3 separate regions of the Homo sapiens genome follow, and all the other regions are linked to region 3. Evidence: promoter capture Hi-C in 16 types of primary human blood cells and fetal thymus (Javierre and others, 2016). All regions are on one chromosome and are shown on one strand. Each heading gives the region's core, a stretch centred on a gene start or on the middle of the fragment in contact. The rest is flanking DNA. Distances are from core to core; before and after follow the strand shown. Region 1 overlaps NKAIN2 (sodium/potassium transporting ATPase interacting 2). Region 2 overlaps NKAIN2 (sodium/potassium transporting ATPase interacting 2). Region 3 holds the start of NKAIN2 (sodium/potassium transporting ATPase interacting 2).

Region 1 (2,700 bases), core at 45-2,544, 960 kb after region 3:
GGAGAAAAGTGAAGGGAATAAATTGCACACATCCCAGTGGCAGGAAAACAAAGGACTCATTAAAGAATAGAGAATTGATCTGGCTGGAATGTTGACTATCGGAGAGCGTTGGTTTGCAGGAGCAGGAGCAGGGGTGCCCCTGGGTAAGAAGAAGTCTAGAGGGATTTCAGACTAGAAAAGGTAAGTAGAACTTCACTGTAAATCTGAGGAATTTGGATTTTATTCTGTCAGTGACAGGAAAGAATTAAAGTCAAAGTGCTCTTGATAGTTCTTTTGTTTGCATGTACTGTTCAGTGTTGAAAATGGGTAAACCTGGAGAACATTATGCTAAGTGCAATAGGCCAGGCACAGAAAGTCAAACACCATGTCTCACTTATACGCAGAATCTAAAAAAGTTGAACTTATAGAAGCAGAGAGTAAAATGGGGTTGGGGGAAAGCAGGGTGATTGGGGAGCTGTTTAGCCAAAACATTCAAACTTTTAGTTAGACAGAAGGAATAAATTCAAGAGATCTATTGTACAACATGGTGACTATATGTATAATATTAGTTCTTGCACTGCTATAAAGAAATATGTGAGACTGGGTTATTTACAAAGAAAAGAGGTTTAATTGGCTCACAGTTCTGCAGGCTGCACAGGAAGCATAGCAGCTTCTACTTCTGGGGAGGCCTCAGATAACTGCCAGTCATGGCAGACGCAAAGAGGGAATGAGGCACTTCTTACACAGCTGGAGCAGGAGCAAGAGATGGAGGGAGGTGCCACACACTTTTAAACAACCACATCTCACAAGAACTCAGTCACTATCAGGAGAATAGCACGAAGGGGGCAATCTGCCCCCATAATCCAATCATCTCCCACCAGGCCCCACCTTCACCATTGGGATTACAATTCAACATGAGATTTGGGTGGGGACACAAATCCAACCCATGTTACTATAGTTGATAAAGGGTTGTTTACTTGACAACTGCTGAAAGAGCAGATTTTAAATGTTCTCGACATGAAAAATAAGTATATAAGGTAATAAATATGTTAACTAGATTGATTTAGCCATTCCACAGACATATTTTAAAACATGGTGTTTTAAACAACATTCATAGATACTGTTTTTATTTGTCAGTTAAAGTGTATATAATTTAAAAATAAAATAAGCTCTATATTAACAGTAGTCTGTATTATAAAGCATTTGCTTCCCTCAAATGTTTCAACATTTCCTATGTCATAACTGGACCCCAAACTTAGCTGAAATTTTCATATACATATTCTTAAGGACCTAAACCAGTGGTTTGCTTTGGTCCTATGATCACCCTTCACAAAGTCTGACACTTCTGCATTATTTATATCAGTATTTCTCCAACTATAGTCTTTGGCTCTTTAGATATCTATGAACTTATTCTGAGGAGTGGAAGAAACTAGTCTTTTTTAATTTGTAGGTTCTTAACATGGGGTTCTTGAGCAGAGGTGAGAAAATAATTGCATATTTTATTTTCACTAACTTCTAACTGAAATAAAACATTTCTCTTTAAAGTAAATTGGCAACACAGGCAGATTTTTTATAGGTCATTACAATTACTGTGAAAACCTTGAAAGTTTTTTAATGCTTATCACTAATTTAAAATTATGGGGGTTATCAAACCTGATGACAGATCTCATTATTTATTGGTAATAAAAATTCACCAATAATATATTTGTCAATGTTATGATTTTTTAGATATTTTGATTACTGTAATTCTGGATAATTGGTTTCATCTTACTGGTTGAATTTAGTTTTATGCTTTGAAAAACTATCCTGAGAAGCAGCCCGTAAGCTACAAGAGACAGGCAGAAGAGTCTATGGGATAAAAATGGTTAAGAATCCACAACTTAGAAGGAGTCTATAGTATTACTCCAGTCTAGGGGTGGAGGGAGAACTGCCTTCTGTTATCACTCCTTGCTTTAAGAAACCTGTGTTCAGGCTTTTGCTTTGAATACTAAACCATCTATTTCTGTATTTATCATATTTCTTTGAGTCGATACCTTTGAGCCTTCCTAGATGGCTTCTTATCACTTGAAGTTGACTATAAATGGATTCTTTTATTTTGTTTACCCTGGAGTCAGAACAGGCAGGAGGAAATCAGGTTGAGAGGAGTAAAGCATCCCAAGGAAAATTTTATCAATTAAATGTTAATGCAAAAAAAAACCTATTCATTCTCTTGATTTGTGTTACTTTAAGGTGAAATCCAGAATATCAAATGAACTTATCAAAAGGATGCCTAAATGCTTTCAACTTTTTGGTGAGTTCTTTAACTAAGTTCCACTAGGTTTAAAATATAAATATATTGTTTCCACTTAAGCAATCTCCAGATAATATTTTAAAAGATAATGAAATAATATCTAAGACCCTCAGATGGAAGCTACTGTATTAAGTGCTAACTCTAATCATTATTTTCTTAAATATTTGGATATTTGGATCTCACTGAAACATGTAACATTCTTTTGAAATGACCTGTGAATAGAAAAATGCAATCAAAGCATGTTGCAGTGGAAGCACCTGCTTCTCTCCGTTCTGTAAGAATAGAGTCTCAATGAATAGCCTGCTGAAATTCCAATGGCTTTATCAAATGAGACCCTGACCAGGTTTTCCAACAATATTTAAAGCCTCCCTTAGTGATTTCACTGCATTTACAGAGAGACCTCAACAATCAAGAAGGAAATGTGTGTTTTG
Region 2 (2,700 bases), core at 129-2,628, 980 kb after region 3:
TTCTTTGAAGACTTTTTCAGTGCTGACCTACTTCTCCTTTTCCTTCAGGACTCCAGTGGGGGAAAAAAAAGTTAGGTCTTTTGTTATTTCCATGAGTCTCTGAGGCTCTGTGCATGTTTTCCAGTTTACTTTGTCTCTGTTTCTTAGTTTAGGTAATTTCTATTGTTCAATCTTCAAGTTCACTGATTCTTTCCTCTGTCACCTCCACATTTTTCAGTTCTAAGTTTTCAGTTTGGTTCTTCCTTATATATTCTGTTTCTTTGCTGAGACCTTCTAATATTTTAATTTATTTCAGGCATGTTTGTAATTGCTTATTGGAGCATTTTTGCGATGTCTACTCTAAAATATGTGTCAGAAAATCTTAACATCTCTATCACCTCTGTGGTTAGGTTACATTGGCTGTCTTTTCATTCAGTTTGAGGCCATCCTCACTGTTGGTATGATTAGTAATTTTTAATTGAAACATGGACATTTGGGGTATTATGCTATGAGACCCTAGATCTTAATTAAACCTTTCATTTTAGTTGATTCCTCTGATGCTGTTTTGATGGGAGAAGGAGGGATGCTGACTTATTTCTGCCAATTGGGGATAGAAGTCCAGGGTTCCCACTTAGCCTCCATTGAGACTTAAGGTGGGAAGGGCTTTTCATTAAGTTTGGGAGGCTGTGGAAGGTCCTGCCCCCCACTAGCCTCTGACTGATAGCTCCATATCTGGCAAGAGCCTTATTACTGCTCCAAGGTGGCTTTCACTGATGCCATGGGGGTGGCGGACTGGCCTCAGTACTGCTGGGCATTGGTAAAAGTCCTGATCTTCTACTAAGCTTCCACTGACATCACCCCAGTGGGGAGAAGAGAGTGTCTGCCTTGTTACTGGAGAGTGAGGCTAAAAGTCTGGATTACTTACTCATGAGGCAGTGGGGAAGTCTTGGCTCCCTACTCTTTGTTGCTGTGGTTGGGGAGTGGGGCTACAATTTTTGTGTTTTTGTTTTGTTTTGTTCTGTTTTCTATGGTGTTGGCTAAAACAAAGAGGTACTATCACTGTAAAATTTTCTGTCTTGCTAGGCTGCCTTTTCCCTTTTCTCTGGTCTTTTGGCTAGAGACAGCAAGGGTTTACTGGGGCTTTTAAAAAATCTGTACCTGTTGGCATTTCAGAGTTATAGGCTTCTTCAGCTCCAAGTAAGTCTGGTGTATATGAAATAATAATAATAATGGAATTCACCCTCATGTACTTTTTTGAGTACCAAAGGCCATAGCTGGTCTGCCTCAAAGTCTTCTTGTAATTGTTATATATATAATGTTCAGAGTTTTTAGTTATACTTAATAGGAAAGATAGGGAAAGGTATCCTTCCCATTGCTCCAACTTCCCAGAAACCGAAATCCAGAATGTAATAGATTAAACGCTAAGGTTGCTATATTTTCAATTATTACAATTAAATCTTTTAAAATACTTACCAAAAGGCTTTGGTTTCATTTTTTCTATTAGCTTCTAAGTGAATTTCTGGGACATACAATCATAATTTGGTCTGTGGATACAAAAAAGAATTTTAATCTGATTTAGTTATACAGAGAAAATATCATTTCCTTCCAGTCAGTGATAATATCAAGATGACATGTAATTCCTTACCAGGTGAATTAGAAGTGAACAAATCACATTAGATACATGAAGGTGAAAAGATAAATAAAAAAAAAATTATACTTAGCTCTGCTTTGAATGACAAAGACTAAAACAACTAGAATATTTTATTTCTTTCACTAGTGGATAATTGTGTGTTTGCCTAGGATAATGCCACAGGTCCCTTCCATTATTATTCTAAGCATCTTTAAATCAGGAACAAAATAAAATTATTTTCTTTCAATTGAAGATACTCATATCTACTCTAACAACATGAGCCTCTATTATCTGCTTTGTGCCGTGTTACTTCCCTTTATACAGCCCAAGCTTCTCTGAACTGGGCCACTTCCTCCTCCCTATTTCTTCCCAGCTCTAGTCTAAACTCCACTTGGAAGATGTACTCTCCATCTCTCCGTACCCCTCTTTATTCCATTTCAAGCCCTCCCACCTCTCAAGGTCTATCTCAAAAGTGCCAAGCACCAACCTACTCCGAGAATGGATTACCAGTTCTTGGAGGAAGCAGCACCTTTATTCAGCCTTAAAGAATGAATTAGTGTCCATTAGTTGTTTTTCCTGATGGATATTAACTCATTCTTTAAGGTCAGCTTAATACCGGGAGATGAAATAATCTGTACAACAAACCCCCATGACACAAGTTTACCTGTATAACAAACCTACATATGAACCCTAGAACTTAAAATAACAGTGAATTAAAAAATTAAAAAGAAGACCCGGGAAGTAAGCAGGCAGTACTGCCATGTAAAGCTTTATATCCAGCTTAGCAACTCAGGACTCTGTTTTCAAAAACAAATGCAAAAAAAGAATGAGTTAGAATTACTCATTACTGGAGGTGCAAGGCTGACTAGGGAGGGGAAGGAAGAGGTACAGGGCATTAGCATTCTTTGTTGGCAGACTGGGAAAATGAGTTAAGGAACAGAGAAGGAAAGCTACCTGATAGATGTCAGCAAGCTACCAACAGCTTTCTACTGACATCAATTCTGACAAGGATTGGTGAGAGATGAGGCTAGAAAGGAAGACAAGTATCACATCAGGAAGGATTTGGACCCATGAAAAATGTTATACTTTTG
Region 3 (2,700 bases), core at 125-2,624:
AATCTCTTAAGAAGGGTGCTAGGGAGCTGTTTGCTATTTAGCTCCCTAAACCATCCTCTTATCAATCGCGACACTTCACCCCAATGAGTCAGTTCCTCAGTGGATCTCAACAAATAATCTTCACTTCCTGGAAAAGTTAGGATTGCTTTCCTTAGCTGCCAGGGCTAAAAAGGAAACTTGGTCCTAAATATCCACGCCCCAGGGGCAGCCACTTGGGCCAGCATGTTGCGCCCTTCAGCTTTCCGCCCGCAGGTGGCAGCAGCGGGCTCCGAAGCCTGTCTCTGCAGGTAGCAGCCGCTTCACAGCTTTCAGGCCGGTGCTCAGCGGAGGCTGGTGCATCTCCACTAGGAATCCACACCCAGCTGGGACTGCTGTGAAGCTGAAGTAACTGAGTATTAAACTAGTCTCCGACTCTTTAGTATTTTAAGTGAAAACAAACAACAGTTTGAAGCAGCAACAGCAACTCATTGCATCCCTATTCCCTCCGGTTGCTAATTTTTCCCAACTCCAGCAGCAACTCGGTCCCCTTCCCCAAGCAGGGTCGGCTCCGTAGCTCTCCGCGCTCCGACCCTTCAGATCCTCGGGAGCCCAGGGGAGCCAGGTGCTGGGCGGTGCGTCCGGTGCCGCCGCGCCCCTTCTCGCCACCTCTGGCCTCTCCGCCACTCGGGCTTTCCGGCCGCTCTGGATGCCTCGGTTGCACCCCTGTTCCATGACCCCAGCTTCCTTCCCTAACCCTCCTCTTGGTCCCTTCTCCCCCGAGCGCGCGCGCACACACACACTCGGTTCGCTCCCGCGGAGTGGCTCTGGGAGCACGACCGACTTCAGCTCAGCAAACCGCGGTCATGCCGCCCAGACTCCTCGCCCCGAGGCCCCGGTCCCCGCCGCCGCCGCTTTCGCGCCGCTCCTTTCCGCCTAGACACCGCCGCCTGCGGCCGCCTGGGCGGCAGCCCCTGCGGTCCTCAAAGTTGGCCCCCTGGGAGGGGGCGGCAGGGAGCAGGATGAAGGATTTGTTGTAGGAGGAGGATTCACACATCTGGGCGAAGGGAGGGGCAGCGCCGCTGCTGGGACGCGGCGCGGACCCGCATCATTGCGCGCAGCAGCCGCTGCAGCAGCCGCCGGGGACCGCGGAGCCGGGACGCCCCCGCTCGGCCCGCGCCCCGCTCCCCGCCCCACCCCCGCCCGCCGGGCCCAGCAACGCAGGGTGCCTAGGAGCCGCGGGCTGCGCAGGGAGGCGGGCAGCGGCCCTCGCGCGCTTCTGCCGCCCCCGGAGCCGGCGCGCGGCGAGCGCAGGGCGAGCGCGCGTCGGGCGGCGGCCGCGCTGGGGGGCGTGAGGCGAGCGGCGCGGAGAGCGGCAGGGGCGAAACTTCGCGGGCCAGATGCCCGAGGGCGCGGCGGCGCTGCCAGGCTGCCGCTGCTGCCCCTGCGGGCCCCGAGCGCGCCTCCGCAGGCGGCACTGCCCGCGGCGCGGCGTGTGCACCGAGCGAGTGAAGGTATGTGTGGCGGGCGCGGCTGGAGCTGCCGCCGCCGCCGCCGCCGCGCCAGCAGGTCCTAATGCCTGTCACTTCCCAGGACGCTGGCAGCAGCAGCAGCCCGGAGCCCCCGAGCCCTCGGCAGGTTTGCGTGTCCTTCCCCGCGATCTGATTGGATAAAGTGGGGGCTCGACGGTGGCCGACGTGGGACAGTCTGGCTGTGGCAGGGGTCTCGGAAACCATGGGTTATTGCAGTGGCAGGTGCACGCTTATCTTTATCTGTGGCATGCAACTGGTAAGTGACACTTGGGTCCCCTTATTCTGTAATGTGTCTTTGAGATAGTGGGCAGGGGAGTGCAGCAAAGGGTCTGCCATTGACTAGAATGGACGAAAAAGATAAAAGAGAAGGTGACAGATATATTGCCTATATTGAAGATGATTTCAGGGAGACGCACTCTGGGGTACAGGAGAGGTGAGCCTTTCCGTTCCCACCTATTTCTGTCCCTTTTAAGACAGTTTGGCAGGTGCGGGTTAAACTTGTCTTTAATTTCTTTAGGAAAAGCAAGATGTAGCTCTTGTTCTTTATGCTTTGCATTCCTATTCATGTAACAACGTGATTGTCACCTACAATTTACCGTACAGGTTGTTAAACAGAGGAATACGGAATTTTGGACTTTTCTTCTCTATACTAATTTTGCAGTATCTTTGTTTCTTCATAGACATGTTTTTTTTCTTTTTTTAAGGAAAATGTTGTCTTTAAGTATAATGCTCTAAAAAAACCACTGTTTAGGGCACATGGTATCCTTACAACAGTCTAATTTAGACTGTTTGAGTTTTAGCCACATTGAGTTTTTAAAGTATGCAGATTGAACAAAAATACTTAGGTGAACTCAGCAACACCATTGTCATAGACGGAACCAGTAACCTTTAAATCACAATTAACACAGACAATTCCAAGAAAAACTATTCTGTCTTACATTATGCATATTATTGCTCCTGAAATAGATACTGTTGTCTGATCCTATAGGATGGAGAATTCTATGTACTTTTTGAGGAATGTTGTACAGTTGCAAAGGGGCAAGGAACCAATAATGGAAAACGTCATGTCTCTGAATTTCAATTCCCTAAGGGCAATGGAAGGAGGGTCTGAGTAGAGAGTTGAGAGGTGAAAAATACACCACTCTAAGTGGTTAATTTGAGGTAGGAGCTACTTGCTCACACTTGTCATTAA

Evidence for each region. Contacts are between HindIII fragments. The CHiCAGO score rates a contact against its expected background, and 5 or more counts as called.
Region 1: a fragment that was not itself captured here is called in contact with the fragment with the promoter of NKAIN2 in region 3 in 2 of 17 cell types (M0 macrophages and endothelial precursors); the score reaches 7.7 in M0 macrophages.
Region 2: a contact is called between a fragment that was not itself captured here and the fragment with the promoter of NKAIN2 in region 3, in 6 of 17 cell types (monocytes, M1 macrophages, M0 macrophages and 3 more). The highest score is 12.2, in monocytes.

The regions. Positions count from the first base shown.
Region 1 is chr6:124,762,703-124,765,402 of GRCh38, forward strand. All of the region lies in intron 4 of NKAIN2 (sodium/potassium transporting ATPase interacting 2), which reads left to right. Among named protein-coding and RNA genes, the nearest start is that of RNF217, 200 kb to the right of the region's middle. The HindIII fragment of the contact is 6,999 bases long and covers 1-2,700 here.
Region 2 is chr6:124,785,008-124,787,707 of GRCh38, forward strand. The region is part of intron 4 of NKAIN2 (sodium/potassium transporting ATPase interacting 2); the gene reads left to right. Among named protein-coding and RNA genes, the nearest start is that of RNF217, 180 kb to the right of the region's middle. The HindIII fragment of the contact is 1,118 bases long and covers 820-1,937 here.
Region 3 is chr6:123,802,491-123,805,190 of GRCh38, forward strand. NKAIN2 (sodium/potassium transporting ATPase interacting 2) reads left to right here and starts at 1,375. Exons shown (of 7, transcript NM_001040214.3): 1 at 1,375-1,764. The coding sequence starts at 1,711. RefSeq lists an enhancer at 131-180. The HindIII fragment of the contact is 9,489 bases long and covers 1-2,700 here.